Linked DNA regions of Homo sapiens: regions 1, 2 and 4 are each linked to region 3. Evidence: promoter capture Hi-C in 16 types of primary human blood cells and fetal thymus (Javierre and others, 2016). All regions are on one chromosome and are shown on one strand. The core of a region is centred on a gene start or on the middle of the fragment in contact, and the rest is flanking DNA. Distances in the headings are between cores, read along the strand shown. Region 1 overlaps SPON1 (spondin 1). Region 2 overlaps SPON1 (spondin 1). Region 3 holds the start of PTH (parathyroid hormone). Region 4 overlaps SPON1 (spondin 1).

Region 1 (5,466 bases), core at 2,084-4,583, 770 kb after region 3:
TCTTGATTCCCGCTGGCGGGAAGTTCCCACCGCGCAGCCTGGCAGGCGCCCCTGCCACCGTGCACTGCTGCAGCGTTCACTCGGTGTGTTGCAGACGGCTCCACCTGCACCATGTCCGAGTGGATCACCTGGTCGCCCTGCAGCATCTCCTGCGGCATGGGCATGAGGTCCCGGGAGAGGTATGTGAAGCAGTTCCCGGAGGACGGCTCCGTGTGCACGCTGCCCACTGAGGAAACGGAGAAGTGCACGGTCAACGAGGAGTGCTGTGAGTGGGGGCCCCGGGCGGGCAGGCGGGCAAGTAGGTCGGGGAGGCAGCAGGTGCGACTCCAATGCCGCTGGCCTCCCCAGCTCCCAGCAGCTGCCTGATGACCGAGTGGGGCGAGTGGGACGAGTGCAGCGCCACCTGCGGCATGGGCATGAAGAAGCGGCACCGCATGATCAAGATGAACCCCGCAGATGGCTCCATGTGCAAAGCCGAGACATCACAGGCAGAGAAGTGCATGATGCCAGAGTGCCGTGAGTGAGAGCGGGGGTGGACTTGGAGGAGGCCACTGGGGACAGGCGTGGAGGGCCATGGCATCCACTATTACCACCATAAAGGTCGGAGGCTGAGCAGAGGAAAGCATGGCCCATGGTCCTTGCTGGGCACTGCTGGGAGCCAGATGAGAGACATAGGTGTGTAGACATCAACCAGACCCAGAGAGAGTAACCTCCACTGGGGGACATTCTAAGCAATGCTGGGGTGGCAAACTGGTGGCCTCTGGATAGAGAATTCACCTGCAGCTGTGTTTTATAGGAGTGTCTTTCTTGCAGTGGTGGGGAGGAGGGCCAATACATTTAGGCGGGACATACATTACCCAGGTCCAGCCCACTCCTCCCACTCCTGTTGTACATTGGACTTGGCTGATCCCATAAAGCATGACCTCCCCTGCTCTGTGCACAAATGCATATGGGCCTGCCCACACATTAGTATGCAGATGTATACAGGCACACAAGTATATACACATTCTAGGGAATTCAGGACAATGTCCAAAAATGCATCCCTGAGCCTCTCCTTTAGTGCCTGATTCTTAGTGAGTGTGGGATGTTTCTGTCTCTAGGAAGACCCTGCTAAGATCCTCAGTGGCCTTTCTAGTGGGGACTTATGTAGTCATATTGCTACCCTCATGTCATAACCATCGGGGGGGGTCAGCAGGGAGATGAAAGAGAGTGAAAAGAAGAGCAGTAGGCTGCTGAGCCACTTCTTGCTCCATAGATTTCACTCTTATTTGAACCCATGGGCCAATTCCACTTTATTCCAGGGGCCAAAGCAGGGGACTCGGTGTGGAACACTGTGGGGTCAGGGAGATCAACGAAAACAAAAGGAACCTGTTCTCAGTGGCAAACCTGGTTCTTGATCTAGACACCATCCCATGCTTGCTGTCCCCATGGTCCGAGTGGAGTGACTGCAGCGTGACCTGCGGGAAGGGCATGCGAACCCGACAGCGGATGCTCAAGTCTCTGGCAGAACTTGGAGACTGCAATGAGGATCTGGAGCAGGTGGAGAAGTGCATGCTCCCTGAATGCCGTAAGTCCTGGAGCTCCTCAAGGCCCATCACTTCTATGTTCCTGAGTCCAGGGAGCCCCGAACCAGCCAGTGCTAATACTGCTAGATCCTAGAATAACATGGTTTGCTGGGGAAGAGTTTGGGGTTTGGCTTTCAGTGTTTGCAGTTACTTAAACACTGCAGTCAGTTTCATTAATAAAGTGAGAATCCCACTACCGTCTACAGAACACCCAAAGTTAAGGTTCCTGTGAAGTCTAAATGACAGACACATACGAAAAACAGCACAAAGCTCAATAAACCTTAGTTCTTTCCCTCCTCTCCCCCAACAATTATAGGCTTGCCTGACCCATGGATTTTCCAAGCATTTTAATTCTATTTTCCCTGTGACCATTTTAATTCCCCATGACCAGAGGCTGGACATTAAATCAATGACTCCTGCAGACTGGTAAGAAAACCAGCAAGAAAACAAGCCAAGTTCTCAAAAACTCACCCCACCCCGCTCCACTCCCAGTCCTGTTTTCCAAAGTCTCTGCGATCAGCTGTTTATATTACATGGGACTAATCTCCAAGCAGAGCAAGCCAGTTTCCTTGGCTGGTCTTCCAAGAGCTGCTTTTTTGGGTGGTAAAAGGGCAGGCACACTGGCTGTGGCTCTGGCCCCCTCCAGCATGTACTTGCAGTCGTTCATCCTCCCTCCCCTAGCTAGTAACCTTCAGCCGATGACTCAGCACCTCTGTTCCTCAGTTTCTCCATCTGTAAAATAGCAGGAAATACTTCCTAGGTTGCTCTGAGGATGAAACCAAGTAATTGGTCCAAAGTATGAGCACTGGACATGGCAAGGATAGGCCTTACTTAATCCCTGCTCCATGCTCCAGCTCCTGGGTTGTTTTAGGAGACTCAGCCATGGGTGGAGGTAACTTGGACCACCCACTAGAGAAAGCCTGGGGTTTTCAGTAACTAAGATTGGCCCATGGTTCAGGCCAGCTCACCAGAGTTGGGGCCCCATAGCCTTCTGACTTAGAGTGCCTGGGGTCCACTGAAGTAAGGGAGAAGAAAATGAAAATTTATGGAGCACTTACAGGGCTGGGAGCATCTCATTTAATCCTTACAACCTAATGAAAAAAAAAATACCATGATCCCCATTTTGCAGATAAGAAAGCTGCCTGAGCTTCCACAGGCGGGATAAAAGAACTGAAACTGTTGAACTAAATGAGGACATCTAAGTCCACCACCCTGACTTTGGCCTTGCAAGACCAACAGAGAGCTTGGAATAATTTACCTCCCTGGGACACATCCTGACAGTCAAACTGATGTGTTATTTTCCTTTCACATTTATGAGATGCTGGCTTAGTAAGAATTTACTGGATCTCGATAAACCATAAAGCACCACTTGCTCCTGACCCTCTTCTCTACTGAATGTCCCATTTCTGGCTCCTGTGTTTTTTGCATAGACCACCATATATAGAACACAGGATGATGTTGAGAATGAAAAGCTGCCAGGGTGTGTTAGAACCACAATGTCCTTGGTATTGGTCCACAAGGGTCAGCCGCCTTTAGCTTGTTGACTTGTTCTCTCCAAAGAGCAGCAGGGGGCTTGCTGGCCTTGCTCTGAAAAATATCACCAGTGAGTTTGGGACTGTGGGAAGCTATTCTGTACTTGAGGCTGATCTGACAATATTCTAGTTCACAGAGCAGGGCAAGAGGCTCTGAACACATCCTGAAAGTCCTCCAAAGCCTTCTTGAGTCATAGAGGGAGCATAGAATGGGTGATGACCTGGCACCAATCCTGCCTCTGCTGCTTACCAACCACACGGGCTGAAGTCAGCCTGCCTCTTTGGAGCCTCAGTTTCTTCTTCTGTAAAATAGCATGACACAGCACCTGCTTTGCATCCCTCATAGGCTTGTTGAGATGTTCAAAGGAGAGCGTGACCATATCTTGTTTCAGACATGTGATACACTCATGCCCATCTGTGTCTTGCCAGCCATTGACTGTGAGCTCACCGAGTGGTCCCAGTGGTCGGAATGTAACAAGTCATGTGGGAAAGGCCACGTGATTCGAACCCGGATGATCCAAATGGAGCCTCAGTTTGGAGGTGCACCCTGCCCAGAGACTGTGCAGCGAAAAAAGTGCCGCATCCGAAAATGCCTTCGAAATCCATCCATCCAAAAGCTACGCTGGAGGGAGGCCCGAGAGAGCCGGCGGAGTGAGCAGCTGAAGGAAGAGTCTGAAGGGGAGCAGTTCCCAGGTATGGCTCCCAAGTGTCAGCCTGGGTGGTCTCCAGGACAGGCAGGGTTCTGCACTGGGCTAAGTCTTGGACCTGTTTAAAAAAAAAAAAAAAAAAAAAGTCGGGGAGAGTCTGCATCTTCTGGAGTCTTCAGGCCACATTTTGATTCTTTAGATCCAAGTTTGTTCCCAAATATTGAGCAAGCATAATTTATAAAGGAGATTGGCGGTGGGGGTCATTTATCAAAGAACATTTAGATAACCTAATTACCTGCCAAAAATAAATTTTCAAGCAAAGAATCTTTAGGAATTACAGTTCCTTCTTTACACACATATAAAACCAATAATGTGTCCAACTTTGCTCAAAGTCAGTTATGACTTAGCAACACCATTCACTCCTTGCAAAGAGGGAAAATGATACAGATGTGTCAAAGGAGTCTTGTCTTGTTCATCATTTAGGGAATGTTCCTGAGAACCTCCCAGAACACATCATCTTCCATTTTAAGGGTGTGGCTCAGACAAGGCAGCCGTGGCCTGAGACTTTATGATTTTTTTTTGCAAGGCTAACCAGAAGTTTATCAGCAGTGTCATGTCAGCCTTGAGTTTTATTTCCCCAAATAATATTGATCCAAGCTGACAAATAACTAATAGAACAATGCACCAAGTGCTCAGGGAGCTGAGGAATGAGCATCATCTTACATTGACTGGAGTTCAGGGAGATGTCAGAGCAGGGAAAACTAGAGTGGGTCTTGAAAAATCTAGAGGAGTTTGCCACTTAGAAAAGTACATTCCAGGCCGGGCACGGTGGCTCATGCCTGTAATCCCAGCACCTTGGTAGGCCAAGGCAGGCCAATCACTTGAGGTCAGGAGTTTGAGACCAGCCTGGCCAATATGGTGAAACCCCATCTCTACTAAAAGTACAAAAATTAGCCGGGCATGGTGGCGCACACCTGTAATCCCAGCTACTCAGGAGGCTGAAGCAGGAGAATCACTTGAACTGGGGAGGCAGAGGTTGCAGTGAGCCAAGAGCACACCATTGCACTCCAGTCTGGGCAACAAGAGTGAAACTCCGTCTCAAATTAAAAAAAAAAAAAAAGAAAAGTACATTCCAGGCAGCAAGAATAGTCATTACAAAGGCACAGAGATGCCAAAGACCATGATAGGTCCAAGTGATAGGTCCAAGTGATAAATGGGATGCAGATGAAGCACAGAGGACAAGGCAGGCAGGAAACCAGGCTGGGAAGGCAGGGACCAGACCACACAAGGCCAGTGGCCCACCAAGGATTTTGGGACCTGATTCTGTAGGTGGTTTTAAGCAAGAGGGTGACTGTATCAGACCTGTGTTGACTGATTTGGGGATGGCAAACAGACACAGAGGCCAGATAGGTTTTATTTGTAACCCAAGAGAAAGATTATACATCCCCAAACTCCAGCTTAACTTCAGAGTTCCAGGACTTCAGAAGAAAAAGAAAATGCCTGCCAGGGACTTCAGTGCTGAAGGTGCCCATGTAAAAAAGTGAAGATTAACATGTACATCAAGTTTTCTGATTTTTAAAGGCCTATTCTTTTTGAAGCATGAGGATCTCCTTGATGGTTCAGGATCCTTATGATTAGGGAGCTGTTTGCATATCAAAGTGCTGTCTGTTCTACATGGTAGTCAGCCAGTCAACAAACATTCATTAAAGCCTACTATGTGGC
Region 2 (5,195 bases), core at 1,760-4,259, 730 kb after region 3:
TTTCCTCAGCAGGAAACCCCACCTTAAAGGACTGTTAGTATGCAGATGAGATAATGCATGTAGCACTCTCATATCTAGCATAGAGGCCATACCCAGTACTTGACAGCTTGGTGATGAGGATGAAGATGAGGATGGTGGTGGCTGGCATAAAGGATACACATAAGGGTGAAAGACTGAGGGAGATATGAGGCCGGAGAAGTAGGTGGGGCCAAAGGGTGAGCCCTTGGGCTCCATGCTGAACAAAATTGGGCTTTACCCCTAAAGCCAAAGGAAGAATTTCAAGAGTGGAGTAGCCTGATCAAGTGTCTGTTTTAGAAAGTTCTGTCTGATGGACTGGGTGCAGGGAGTAAAACGGGAGGCAGGAACTGATTTTGGAGGCTCTTGCACTAATGTAAAGACAGTGAAGGCAATAGACATGGCACGGATGGAGTGACGGAAGCCTCTCCAGGGTGTGGCTGAGGGCGCCATTCCTTTATGATTTCTCAGGCTATGGATGTGAATTTTCCTAAGCCAGGTCTGCTCACTCACAGCAGGGCCCAGCTGCATGGAGGAATATAGAATCCAGGGTATTATCATTAGAATTAAGCTGCTTCGTTGAGTCCATAAATGTCACACTCGGGCATACCAGCATGTCTTTTTTTCTGGCTTACAATGTAAAAAGTAACAATGGTTATCTGTGGGTAGTGGGATTATGAATTGTTTTTATATTATTCCTTTTGCCTGTGTCTATTTTCTAAGTGTTCTACAAAGAACATATTTTGTATACGGAAAAATTTATTATAAAAATGTTTTTTTAAAAAAACAAAACTATACATAGTTTCGATCCAAACAGCATCCTCTCTCCTTACTGCCTGAGTAAGGAAATGCTTGATTGAATTAGAAATGGGAGGGGAGGTTGTTGATAGGATCCAACTTCAAACTTCTAAGCTATTTATTTTCTTCCTTTTGCTTTGGAGATTGTGCTGTGCCAATGAAGATAGACTGAAGACGTGAATAGTCTTGAGTTTGAAAAATAATCGTCGTTTTTATTGTTACAGCTTCAGGCATGGATTATTTCCATCATTTATATTTCAGGAAACCTCAAGTACAGCAAAATTGCCCAATAGTTAGAGAAGATCGGATTATTGATACTCTCTTTTTAAAGAAAATAAAATATCTTATCAGAGAGAAGTCCAAGTGACAATAATATCACCATACGTCTACAGGGTTGCAAAAGTAAGGAGTTGAAAGGAAGCTCTGGTTTAAGTACGTGATGTTTAAGAGAACTGCAGACAGGGGTCTAACAGCTGAGATTTTTCAGCACCATGTTCTAAAGCACTTTCTTGCTGGGCCTAAATCAAATGTTTGTCTATATAATGTCTTAGACATTGTATGCATCATCGGGCCATCTTCCTAAAAGGTGGCATTTTGATTACAATCTTCAATTTGGATTTTTAAAAATTTGTAATACCAGTAATGATAAATAGTGCACATAGTTGTATGGTTCATAAAGTGTTCTAACATTTAATCTTTACAACTCTAAGTGTTTGAGTTCACTTTAGTCCATTTTAGAGATGAAGAAGGTAAGGCTCATAGAAGCTTACTGACTGGCCTGAGATCACACAGCTAGGAAGTAGAGAGAGAGGATTCAGATCAAGCTCTTCGGACTTGAATAGGAATGCCCTTTACACTGCTCCCTTCTAATGACAGGTTTTAGTTACAGATGCCTCTTTACCCACCATGGGGTTACTTCCCAGTGAACCCACTGGAAGCTGAAAATATCCTAAGTGGAAAACTGACATTTTTTAAAACATAATGGGATGTGAAAACACAAAATACAATATCCAAAAAATGCTGGCAACACAGTACACTGTACAGTATCGGTTGTTTACCCTTGTGATCGAGTGGTTGACTGGGAGCTGTGGTTCACTGTTGCTGTCCAGCACCACAAGAGTATCATATCACAAATTGCTAGCCTCAGAAAAGGTCAAAATTCGACGTACAATTTTTACTGAATGCATATAGCTTTCACATCATCATAAAGTCAAAAAATTGTTAAGCCAAACTATCTTAAGTCAGGGACTGTCTGCCTTTTATTTTCATTAGACTCACTAATCAAAAAGGCAAGCAGGGCCCATAGGAATTATATCCATTCCTGTTGCTGTTGTAACAAATTACCCACAAATCTGGTGCCTTGGGGTAACACAAATTGGTTCTCTTACAGTTCTGGAGGTTAGAAGTCCAAAATGAGTCTTACAGGGCTGAAGTCAAGATACAAGCAGCGCTGGTTCCTTCGGGAGGCTCCATTGCACAGTCAGTGGCTGCCAGTCTTCCTTGGCTTGTGGCCACATCATTCCAATCTCTGCTTCCATTATCACAGTACCTTCCCCTCTCCTTTAGTCAAATCTCCCTGTGCCTCTGTCTTGTAAAGACACTTATATTTAGGGCCTACCCTGATAATCCAGGACAATCTCCCCATCTCAAGATCATTAACAATATCTGCAAGGCCTTTGTGGACATATAATGAAGCATTCACAGGATCCAGGGATCAGGATGTAGATATTTTGGGGGGCCGTTACTCAGCTTACCATGGCAATATTCGTTTCATTCATTTATTTAGTTATTATTTAGTTATTTTTGTAGAGACGCAGTGTCACTATGTTGCCCAGGCTGGTCTCAATCTCCTGGCCTCAAGTGATCCATCTACTCAGCCTCCCAAATAGCAGGGACTTCAGGCACAAGCCACTACACCCAGCTTTATTTCATTTATTAAGTGGTCCCTAAATGTAAGATTCCCTGAATTTAAATTTAGGCCATAGCTCTTCACAGTTTTCTATTTTAACCTTTCACTTTTGTGTGCCTTGAGGCCTTAGTATTTGTTTGCTTGCTTGCTGGCTGGCTTTTAAGCAAATTTAACTCTGACTTTCTATTGAAAATAACTCACCCAAAACCCCTCCTCCTGCTCTCTGTCAGGGATGGATGCAGACCACTGACTTTTTCCAGGCCAGGCTTGGAAAGGGCTTACAGAGAGGTGCATTCTTTATTGTTCGGCCTCTCCTAACTACTGCCATTTATTGAGCACTTAATATGTGTCAGAAACTTTGAAATCATTCTACATTTATTTACAGCTCATTTGTACCTTGGAACAGGCCTGTAAGGTAGATTATTATCCCCATTTTACCAATGAGAAAATCAAGGCTCAAAGAGTTAAGTAACATTCCCAGGGTTACACAGTTAAGCCACAGACCCTCCAAAACCCAGCCTCTTAATACCATGCTTTTGCAAAATTAAATAATTCCCAAACCTGCGTAATGTATAGATCTCTTTTAAAGGGCAAATACAAGCTCACAAACACCCAAGGTTGAGTTATAAGGATTTTCATTATCATATTATTTAAATATGTGCAAAGATAACCAGATATGAACTCCTTATGCTTATAGCTCTCTTAAGATGATAAAAACAAAATAGTGATACTAATAATAACACAAATAAAACTGCAAACACTTTAAATGCTAATTAAGAACATTGCTTTAATGTGATGGGTGATGCTGTTTTGCTGAAATTAAATGACTGCTCACAATCTCGATGCAATGCTGACCCTCGTAGCCTGGGTCCTTCCGAGTTTGGTATGCATACACCAGGGCCCTTTGGGCTAACTCAGTTCTCCCACTGTTCTTCCAACCACTGACAACACATTGTTCAGGCAGCAGCACACGTATCCTTTGGGCTTTACCTAGTCAAAATGTCTTTGATTTGTTAACTCTGCTTTCCTTTTAGAACCCACTCTCTTTAGCAGCTGGGTTCTCTGGGAAGGAGACCTGCATCAAGATTAGAGTGCAGGAAGTTACCAAAGAATGTTCTTGGGAACCACAGCTGTGGGAGGCAGGGGAAGGAAGCAGGATGTGCAGAGGGAGAAGTTGAGCTGTGTCGCAGGCCCAACAAAGACCTCTACCAACCAACTCACTGGGCTGGGTGGCTCTTCAGAGTTGTCCTGCCTTGGGGACAAGAGCACTGACCTTTGTGCCCCTGGAGGATCACTGGATGAGGGTCACCCTGGAAGGAAGTTTGACCTCACATTAGGCTGTGTTATCTAGCCAATGCCAAAGAACTGACAGCTAAGAGCAACCTTTTACCATCATCCCTGCAGCTGGGAAGTAAGTCCTTCACTCCTGAAGAGAGATCTGGACAGAGCGTCACATTGTCTTCCACACTAACGCACAATAAAGTTGTATAGGGCAACCGTGAGATGTGAAAACAAATGCATCCCAGCCACTGAACTGCCTGGTGATGCTTGACTAGATCTTTGAGATGATCCTTAATATGTACACAATCTATTATTTTATTCTCACAAAAATATAAATATAAATGTTTAAATTCCCACAGAGAACTAAGAAGACTCTAACAACATATTTACAGGCCCCTAGAGGTCTTCAGAACCTACTCCAAGAAAGAGGAAGGTTAGGAAGCTTCCACCCCAGTTACCTCTGCTGGGAATTGCTGCATATACCTGTGATATCTCCGTGGTGTGACAATCACAAAGTTTTACGAATACTTCTTTGGGTGGCAGTAATCATGATGGACAGATCCTCTCACAATTCACATGTAATATTTGGGAATAAAAACTTGATTGAACATTCATTCAACATATTTGATCAGGCACATACTATGACGTGGGTACTTTGCTAGACACCTGGTGGGGAAGATACCTTTATACGAGTGAACAAATAATCATGGACAAAGAGGATCTGAGAGTCTTGGGTCATCAGTAAGCCTTTTCAGAAGAGGAGTGGCTTGAGGGGACAAGGGCAGGAGCATTCCAGACAGAAGGATCCAATGCAAAAGCATGAGCCTTTGGTGCGTGGGCATGACAGGTGATGTAGGAGATTTGGTCAAAAGGTGGGTCAGGCAGTAGTGAGAGGTCGCACTGACAGAAGCGGAGTGGAGAGCCTGCCAGTATGATTAAGTCATCAGAGGCACCCCCTTCATTACTATTCACCTGGCCCTGACTGATACCGTCTCATTTAACCTCCATGCACTGTGATTAACCCAGTAGGGAACAAGCTCCACAAGGGCAGTCTGTCTGGTCTACTGCCCTGTGACGGGAGCCCAGCACAGTGTCCGACCCAGAAAGGAGCTCATTAACATGTGTTTTACAGACAAAGAGTCAGGTTCAGAGAGGACAGCACTTTCCCCAAACTTGCGCAGCATATAAGTGA
Region 3 (5,235 bases), core at 1,319-3,818:
TCAAACATCAAGGCAATGAAACACAAAAGAGCAACTATTTAGCACAATGACTGGCCAAGTAAATAACTTAATCAGCATATTAATAAAAATCCACTGAGTGATAAACATCAAAAATGTAACACTGAATCTAGATAATCACGCATCTGCGATCTCACCATCTACCGTCCTAACTGTGACTTGGGGTAAACTGCCAGAATTCATTCTGCATAAATGAGCTATGTTAAAATGTTAGCAACATTTCATTGCATGATGACAGAGTACATTTCTAGTCCACACAGTACTTCAACGTGATCATTCTCTTAACTCAGCTAATAACTAATGGAAAGTACAGTTTTACAGTCATACCACTTATGTATATACATATATTTTACCCTTGCTTTGTTACATGTTTTTAAATTTTTTTTAAAAAAGTATTTCCTTTCTTATGATCCTCCCCCAGAATTAACATGCTGACTTAGGAAAAGACGAAGTAGATAAAGTCTATCCTAGTATAGAGAGCAATGGTTTACTTTTACCTAATTAAATATTTCCTTGTCATTTATCAATTGTCACTGACCTTTTTTATGTAATTATTTCCTCATTCACTCATCTATAAATATTTATTAGTGCCTGTTGTTACCCATGTCTCCTTGATTTTCCAGAAAAATAATTCATGTTTTTTTTTTCTTCTCATTGCTAAGCTCACTTAGAAAAATTAGGCACCATTTAAAAGACTTGGAGAACAGACCAGCGTGGCTTCTTGGGCACAGCTGGATGGTGCTGGAAGCCAGGCCTGGGATTTGGAGAGAAGAGTCTCCAACAGATAAACCCACGGAGGTCACCAGCCCTCCCTGCATCTACTCTCCTAACAGCTCAGGATGGCCCTGTTACACTACTGCCAGCCCTGGTGACTCGCTTTCTTAGCAATTTTTAAAGCCCTCTTCATTATGTACTTCCTACTTAAAATTCAGAACCTCTGTGATAAGCAATGCCTCTGTCATACAGAATGCTGGATCTCAGTTTACTGAGCCTCTCCCTGTAGTGTCACAGGCTGTGCACTCACCTAGATGAGCCCCTAAGAGCAGGGTTTGCTTCTGCTTCATCTAATGCCACATCTTCCCTCAAATGTGTGGTCACCAAATGTTCTGCAAAAAGGGTCTCTAGCTTTTTACTTTTCTTTTTGGCAAATTAAGCCCTTTAAAATACTTCTGACCTATCTTTATACTCAGATCTCACCTCATCTCAAGTTTTATGGGGTAATGCGCCAGTGAAAGGTACAGTGGTATTAGTGAGTTCTGAAGCTTCTAATTACATAGACAATAGAGGCTGGCTGGTGAGCCATGCTTCTCATGCTCCCTTCTGTCACACTGCAGAAATCTTAAGCTACAAGAGGAATGAAAGAGCCTATTTTTGAGAAATCCCCCCGCACTGCATTTTATGTTGATTATACCTAAATGTTTATAACTTGCTTGAAAATGCCTAATTTTCTTCATAGTGTAAATTGTTAACACTATTTACGTAGCAAATCCTTTTCTTAAGTAACCTTCATTTCAGGCATTGTAATAACCATAAATACCAAACTAATAGGTGCTAATCTAGAGATTTTCACTAAATTAATTCACATTTCTCCTAGCATTAAAAATAATGTGTCAAAGCATTTAAAAATCATCTGATTAATTACTTGTGATATGGATTTCGAGCTTTATCTCTGAATGGAATGCTTGTTTGTAGCTTATTTCTTCAACTTATTTTATTAACAATTATCTTTTAATATAACTTTTGTCTCTTTCCTCGTTTCACATCAGTATAGGATATTCTTGCCTTAATCTGCATTTCAGTACTTGCAAAGGCTGTTATTATAGAAGTGCTTTTCCTTAATGCTCAGTGTACTACCTTTTAACATACACATAGAGTAGTTATGTACTCCTATTTTACAGGGAAACTGCATCATTTAGAAATAGCATAGGAAATACTGTTTTCAGAATACAGCTGTCATTTATGTAAAGGAAATAAATATTTACTAGTCAAACTGGGCTTATCCAACTTTAGTATACAGATTGGGCTCTTTATGAGCCATAAAATAAATAATCTAGATAAGAATACTCTGCAGGAAAAACAGAATATTAACTCCACTTAATAAATTTATAAAGATTATTTAAATCAGAACTATTCATTCACCATCAACCTGTTTTATTTCAAAATTTTGACACCGATACTATTATATTAAAGCATAGCATGCCAAATTTTAATGATTTTTTGTTGTAATTTCAGATGAGGTTTTAAAAGGCAAGGTATCTCAGAAGACTTTAATCAAAAAGGATTTTGTGATTTGAGTAGCATTAATTTATTTTGTATGTGGCATTTTATATTAAACATAACTCAAACTTCTTAGCATTTTACCTTGAAGAAACAACATGGTATTTGTAGAAATGGTACACATTAAATAATAACTTGATTATCAAAATCTCATGAGATTCAGAAGTGAATTTTTAAGTTTACTTACCATACAATGTCTTAGAACAAGATCTTCGTTCAGGTATGTTAGTAGCTGATGCTGAGTAAACTAAAGACAACTGATGAATTGGACTGCAGACCCCTTAAATGGTGACTTTTATATATAGGTCTTCTGCTTACCAAGAGAGGCTCTTTTATTGTTACAGATGATGTCACTCCCAATTCTCTGGATCTCAACTATAGGTTCAAAGCAGCACATACACACACCCATTGGGCGGTGCACACTCTTCTTAAGTTTCAGATAATTGGATACTAAAAGGAAAACAGCATTTGGCTTGACAAGGGGCTTATGCAAAGACTTTTAACAAATACAGAATTATACCATCGAGAAAAATTCTATGTGGATTAATGAATCTGAATTTATACTGTAAAAAGACTGATTTCAAAGGTTTATGATAAAGTCATTATCTTACTTGAAAATAAAACCCAAAAATAAGTGTATTTGTTATAACCGTACTGTTGGTACAGTTTTTATGGTAATAAATCATAAATGTTAGGCTTACTTTACAAGCCATTTTCAACCAATCCATGTCACTTCTGGTCATCTTTCAAAAAACAGATATAGCCCTTTTCTTAAAGGAAGTGTTAAGAATAATTTGAGAAAATGCTCTTAGTACATAATTACTTTAAAAGCTTCAAAAGTGAAATTATTTTAAAATTTATTTAACTTATATTTTATTTGTGCATCTTAATCTATAATAATAACATTTGATAAGCACTAACTGCATGCCTAACTACATATATTATCCCACTAGATCTTCACAGCAGTCCTTTAAAGTTAGTACTTAAAGTACTAAAGTTAAGTGCTTATCCCCATTTTTACATGAGGAAACTTAGGCTTGGAAAGCAGAAAAGATGGAATTCAACAAAGGTCTTTATGACACCAGATTCTTACTACCTCAGTTTCTGCCTAGAAATACAGCCCTTCTTTGAACTCCAGTCTTCTTGACTTTAATTTGCAAAGTCATCTGAAAACACAGCAAAAGCTCTTTGCAACATTTTCCCCTAGGGGTTAGGTCTTTATTCTCATGTTCCCTAAGGGATGATGAGAGCCTGCTCCAAAACCTATTGGAGGCATGATGCTGCCACATGTCTGACTTCAAATATTCCTCCAGCAATATTTTCCTGGTCCACCTGTCAAAACACCCTGAATGTCTTTGATATATCTAGGACTCCTTTAGACAGCTTTGCCTTCCCACCAAAGATCCGGTGCCAGAGTGGGATCAGTTCTCTCAGCTCTGGTCCCATCCTGGCTTCATGTCATCCTTTTTCCTACTAGCCATTGTCAAGGTTTGACTCTACCTTAGGTAAGAGCCAGTACAAATTTGAATAGTAACCGTATGGAGTTTATAATGAGAGATATATACTAGTCCTGTCCTAGGAGATTCTCCACTCTGGGTTAACCTCACTTAGAGTGTTGCTCCAGGCTCCATTTTAGAAGCAGTAGAAACAAATGGGAACATACACTGAGGATATCAATCAGTTTGGTGAAAATGTTGAAAACTATAACATGAGAAGTAGTTGAATGAAACTAGAAAAGTCTGAGGAAAAAAAGACGGGATGACTTTATAGCTGTGTTTAATTATTTATAGGGTTACCATAAGGAAGAAGGAGTATTCTCTGTGGTTTAAGAAGGAAGGGCTGGGTTCATTGGGTTTAACTTGGACATTATAATTGTCAAAATAAGGAATCAAGTACCTTCTCAAATAGTGATTTCTCCATCACTGAGAATATTCAAGTAGAAGGTAGATGAGCATTTATCAGGCATACTATAGAGATTCATACATAGAAGAAAGTTGAACTAGATAACCAAGAGGTCTCTTTTAACTGTAAAAATCTGTTGTCTTGATCTTTTTAAAGACCTCTTCTGATGCAAACTCTACATGTGATGTTTGTGTGTCATTTTTCTGCTATACTCTGTTGAGAAGAAGAATTGGAAATACAGATGGTTTTTCTTTTTTCTTTGAGATAGGATCTCACTCTGTCACTCAGACTGGAGTGGTGCAGTGGTATGGACATGGCAGCCTCAACTTTCGGGGCTCAAGCAGTCCTTCCACCTCAGCCTTCTGAGTAGTGGGGGCTATAGGCACACAGCACCACAACCAGCTAATTTTTAAATTTTTGTGGAGGCAGAGTGTAGCTAAATTGCCCAGGCTGTCCTTGGCTCAAGCAGTCCTCCCACCTCTCGCTCCCAAAGTGCTGGGATTACAGGCATGAGCCACCACACCCAGCCACTAATGGATTTTTATTTTTTAACTTTTAAGTTCAGGGGTACATGTACAGGCCTGTTATATAGGTAAACTCATGTCGTGGAGGTTTATTGTACTAATTATATCATGACCCAGGTATTAAGCCTAGTGCCCATTAGTTATTTTTCCTGATCCTCCGCCTCCTTCCACTCTCCATCCTTCAGTAAGCCCCAGTGTGTGTGGTTCCCTTCTTTGTGTCCATGTGTTCTCATCTTTTAGCTCCCAATTATAAGTGAGACCATGAGATATTTGGTTTTCTGTTCCTATGTTAGTTTGCTAAGGATAGTGGCCTCTAGCTCCATCTTGTTCTTTTTTATGGCTGCCTAGTATTCCATGGTATGTAGGCACCACGTATTCTTTATCCAGTCTACCACTGTTGGGCATTTAGGTTGATTGCATGTCTTTGCTATTGTGAATAGTGCTATAATGAACATACGCATGCATATGTCTTTATTATAGAATGATTTATATTCCTTTGAGTATATACCCAGTA
Region 4 (4,866 bases), core at 2,102-4,601, 700 kb after region 3:
GCCTCCCAAAGTGCTGGGATTACAGGCATGAGCCACCACGCCCAGCTTCCTTTCTTAAATATTGTTTAAATAATGCTGAAAACAAAAAAGAAAAAAGCACTTACAATCCCATCACTTGGTATATAAAGAATAAAAAAGAGCATTGTTCTAAAGCTTATTTAGAAGCCCATTTACACTTAGACCTCAAGTCTTTTAGCCTTGAATACTTTGTGAAGTTCCTCAAAAGAAGAGTGAAATGTTATTTTAAACCACATCATTTAAAAAATACATTGCTCATCCTACCCTCTCTGAGTCCGCTGCTGCCTCTGGTGGCCTGGGGCAGGGAATCCAATGCCTGCCCCAACTGGCCACGGCAGTGATGGAAGGTGGACCAATGAGAACTAGTCTCTGCCTAGGAAGCACTCGTAGGTTATGTTATATACAAAGGATGATGCCTTCACAGTTTAAACTCTCCCCTTAATTTATAACCTTGTGCTGAGCTTTCTGCCTCTCCCACAGATCTTCCAGTCCCACCTCCTCTCAAGTAGAACTCCTTAAATGTAGAGTTGTTTCCTTCTTCCTTCCCCACACACTTAAAACAGGCAGGCACATTTTGTTCTTCATGAACGTTCAGGACCCGCACACTGTGAAACAATGAGTGAAAGGAGTAGACAGCACGGACTCTGACTTCCTGGCTCTAGAAAATTCCTTCCAGAGTAAGTTTGCATGCAGTTCACTGTTGCACACAGTCCTGGGCCAAAGGATCCCAAATGAAAGCAAAAACCCATCAAGAGAATTGTGATTTAAAAGTTAAGAAAACAGCCTGTGCATATTTTTAGAACAGCCCAGAAAAGAATACATCTGTGACTTGAAACAGCTGGAAATCTACTTTCTGCCAAAATTATGCTGATTATGAAAGCTGTAATGGTCAGACAAGAGACAGTCAGAATCCAAGGAGTCCTGTATTTTCATGTATTCAACTTTCAAATAATCTTTACTTTCATACATTAAACATTGACCCCTCTACACTGCCTTTCAAACACCAAATGCCAGCCAGCCATGAAGTTTTTACAGCCATGTTTGTATAATTGAGGATTTTATTGTATTTTGCCCTTATCAGTTTAGTAGTAAGAATGATCAACCAAAAGAACAAAAGTAATCAGAAGCGTGGGTTTTATAAACTCATAATATACTTCAGAAAATAAAGAAAATTATGAGGCATCCTGAAAACAGAATAACATTAGCCCTGGATAGTCATTGGGTTACACCAGTCAACCATGTGTTCAATTCTGAAGGAAAACAAAATTTTAAAATATGTGTGAAATGTTAAAAATATTGGTAACAACTTATGGCTAAAAGACAAGGTATCATTAGGGATATATATATATATATATATATATTAGGATTACTGAAAATGAAGTCTTCTCCTACTTGGCACTCTGCTAGGGTATGTCTGTCATTCACTGTTATGTCCTCAGTGCCTTGCACATAATAGATGCTCCATAAATATTTGTTGAATAAATGAATAAGTCATTTGTAGCTTTGACATTTTAAAGAATTTATTATGCATAAAAGTAGAGATATATTTGCCTGTCTCTAAATATAGAAAGAGAAGTAGAAAAAGGATTTCTGAAGCTGCCCCGTCAATGTGCGTAGAGATGGATCAATCTCTTACAGGGGTACAAAAGGTGAATTTAAGCAGAAAGGGTGACAGTGAGCTGTTTGTCAGACTATTGTCCAAATGCCCTCCCTCACGGTACACCCTCCTCCAAGCCACACATACCCCTGACTGAAATCAGGCAAAAAAACAGACCTGGTAAGGCCAGGACAAAGACAAGGCTTAGGAGTGAGGTGCCCCACCCCCCGCCCCCATCACAGGATGCAACGTCTGGAAAGAGGTGGGACAGGAAGTTGTGCCCGGGGGAGAACATCAAATTCTAGTCCAATATAGTCCAAACTGAGGAATAAAATGAAAATGTACAACCAAGGTAAAGAACCAAACCAGAGATGCTGGTGAGTGAAGAGCATTCAAATGGACATTTCTAGAGGAATTCTCGGGGTAGAGTGCAGGCATCCAAACTGGTGTTTCCCACCAACTTGCTGTGTGCATTTGAAGAAACCAGAGCAGAATGCATGCAGCTCCTATGCAAAAGACGGATAAATTACAACACAGAAAAGACAGTCTAAACTCGTGCACCAGCAGAGCAAGTCTCTGATGTATTTGCTCCAAAATGTAAATGATGAAGCCAAATATTGGACACAGTTGAGATCAGGCACTGGAAAATTATTTCAATGGTGCCAAGGCCACACGCATGGAGGAAAAGCAGTGTCAGCAGCAAGTGTGGTGAGAAACAGGGTAAAAGCAGGATGGTCCTGAGATTCTAAGATCAGAACCAGGAAGTGTTGGCAGGAAGGCCTGGGAGATGATCAGAACAGTTCTCCCTCCAGAGAGGACCCAAGCCTCACTCGCACTGCCACGCCACCCCAATCTTGAAGGTACCCCATGCCGAACCTCATCACTGACAGCTTGTGAAGGTGTATAACGCCCAGGAGGAGTTGTGGTAAACGTATGCACACATATATATAAATATCATCTTGCTCCAAGGTTTTTGAGGATGGTGAGCTCTGCTTGTCACAAAGGTAACAGGGGTGGTCATTGGTTTCACTTTATGTGACCTTAAAGTGCATTTTAAGTGAACTCACATTCAATGTCACTTTGTGGGATGCTTGGGGAAGAGGGTCTCCTTTAGTGTCCAGTCTTCTGAGGCTCTGCCTTTTCCCTCTCTGGCCCTCCTCAGACAAGCAGAGCTGAGACTCTGCCTTCAAAGCTCGGGTATTGCCTGGAATCCCTGAGGCAGTGCTAGCTGGGGAATCCAGTCAGCTAACACATGCCTCTCAGACAGTCTATACTCTCTCCTCTGACATCCAGGAGGGCTCATGGCAGGGCCACACGGTGAGACCTTGCCCATCACACAGCCATTACAGAGGATTCCCACAGAGCCTTTTGACAGTGGTGGCCACTCATGGCTTTCAGAGTATGCTGCTTCCCTGAGGAGCTCACCAAGGGCTGTGATACTCTCAGAAGTGCCTCTGAAAGGCAGCAGTTTACAGAAGGACCCCTGCTGAGCCCCTGGTGAAGCTGAGCTGCTGCACAGCTTGCCCAAGGAACACGTTTTAGAAATATCTTCAGATCCACTGGGACTGCCAGAGGCTCCTCATCCTGTGCCCAGCACAGGCCAGTGGTTCTAGCCCTTTTGGTTCAGGATAAAACTTCACCCTTCCTAGGTTTTTGTCTTTCCACTCATCCCTCACTGGTGAGGTAAAATATGCCTATTAAATCTTCCCATTGGTGTGCGAGAGTCAATATTTAGGGTACTTGACAAAAGCTCTAGATTCCTCTTCCTCTGAGTCCTTACACAGCATACACCTATGGGCATGGAATTGAATAATCTGCCAGTCCTCCATTTCCTTCAGCTCCCTAAACAGCAAATACAAACTGAACTTCATTAGCAACTCCAACTTGAATGGCAAATGCCAGCCACTGGGTCAGCTCAAAGCTCAAGGATAAATTTCAGTGGTGAAACATCCACAGAAAACCCTCAAGTGGGAGAATGCTAAGAAACAGTGGGAAAGAACTAATGGGAATCTAGGCCTACTTCACACACACACACACACACACACACACACACACACACACGGACTGCCTGCGTGGCTGGTACAATAAAAGTGTGTATTTACACTCGCTCATCTATTTCATTACAAGGGACCAATCACAAAGACATTTATTTTGTCTTCTTTCCTGCTCTGGTAAGCTAATTACAAAGTAATTGAATTAGCTACAGAATAAATTAGTTGTTATCAAACTGCAAGTAAAGGGATTCTTCTAAAAATGATTTTAGGGTAAAACACTGGCTTGCACAATTATTCCAGGTTAGGAAATATTTTTAAAATTTATTTTATTAATATGTTTATTGTAGGAGGAAATCCTAAATTTAAAGGTAAACCTAAAGTAAATATTTATTCTACCTTTAATGAATGACAAAGAAAGGAAAGCATGGGTAAATTCTTGAAAATGCTAGAGGGGGCAGTCTACGTGAAATGTTTACATGATAATCTTTGTTGGTTGAAGTCACTGAAATATTGAAACGTCTTTAGTGGTGAGCAAGTGGGGTGGAATGGTGCTTACTCTACATAATGTTCGATTTAGCACCCTTACCACATGTAATTACTAAGTAGCCAGAAAGAATGTCTTTTTCAAAAGTACATACTCTGCCCTCTTAAAAATCTCAAAAATAGCATGTTTTCTTTTCAACTTCTAAATTACACTTCTATTAAATGCTATGCAGAGTTCAGAAAATGGCTGCCTCTGATCAATCTGGTGTGCAAAGCCCTTCATGAAGTCATATCCATTTGATCATAAATAAGCTCAAAGATACCTTGCAATAAAAGTGTCAGGCTTTCAGCTCTCTGGCAAAGTAGAAGTTATTTATACATTGAAAGGGTGTGGGATATTAATGGCAAAGACAAAAATGATTGGAAAAGGCCTGGAATCAAAGGACAAAAGCTGGAATTATTAAACACAATACAACATAATGCCACAATCAGAAACACTGTAATACCATGGAATTCTTACAGTGCCGGTCAAATTATGCCCATGAGCATAATACTTGAGACTTGAGGGTGAAATGTCAGGTCCTATACTTGGGCCTGGAAGCAACAGCACAATTACAAGATCAAATAACAGTATTGGGAATAAAAATAGTTTGCAGGTTTTAGTGGGCAGTGAACTCAGAGTTCATGGCATGCAGAGGCTGCAGAAAGGCCAATTTGAGGATGGACAGTCCTACAAGGCATAGTCTGGAAGCAGGGTTCTTAACTGGGGCTCTG

What was found. The method cuts DNA at HindIII sites, captures the fragments that hold promoters and counts their contacts. A CHiCAGO score of 5 or more calls a contact.
Region 1: a contact is called between a fragment that was not itself captured here and the fragment with the promoter of PTH in region 3, in 2 of 17 cell types (neutrophils and total CD4 T cells). The highest score is 6.9, in neutrophils.
Region 2: a contact is called between a fragment that was not itself captured here and the fragment with the promoter of PTH in region 3, in 1 of 17 cell types (endothelial precursors). The highest score is 5.6, in endothelial precursors.
Region 4: a fragment that was not itself captured here is called in contact with the fragment with the promoter of PTH in region 3 in 1 of 17 cell types (endothelial precursors); the score reaches 5.9 in endothelial precursors.

Annotation. Positions count from the first base shown.
Region 1 is chr11:14,259,186-14,264,651 of GRCh38, forward strand. SPON1 (spondin 1) reads left to right here. Exons shown (of 16, transcript NM_006108.4): 12 at 95-265; 13 at 349-516; 14 at 1,403-1,567; 15 at 3,527-3,790. Among named protein-coding and RNA genes, the nearest start is that of RRAS2, 97 kb to the right of the region's middle. RefSeq lists enhancers at 1-231, 232-755. The HindIII fragment of the contact is 7,755 bases long and covers 1-5,466 here.
Region 2 is chr11:14,224,575-14,229,769 of GRCh38, forward strand. The region is part of intron 6 of SPON1 (spondin 1); the gene reads left to right. Among named protein-coding and RNA genes, the nearest start is that of RRAS2, 130 kb to the right of the region's middle. The HindIII fragment of the contact is 2,867 bases long and covers 1,577-4,443 here.
Region 3 is chr11:13,493,429-13,498,663 of GRCh38, forward strand. PTH (parathyroid hormone) reads right to left here and starts at 2,569. Exons shown (of 3, transcript NM_000315.4): 1 at 2,483-2,569. RefSeq lists promoters at 2,502-3,252, 2,514-3,573, 2,566-2,728 and an enhancer at 2,943-2,964. The HindIII fragment of the contact is 1,846 bases long and covers 1,279-3,124 here.
Region 4 is chr11:14,190,892-14,195,757 of GRCh38, forward strand. The region is part of intron 6 of SPON1 (spondin 1); the gene reads left to right. Among named protein-coding and RNA genes, the nearest start is that of RRAS2, 170 kb to the right of the region's middle. The HindIII fragment of the contact is 6,401 bases long and covers 152-4,866 here.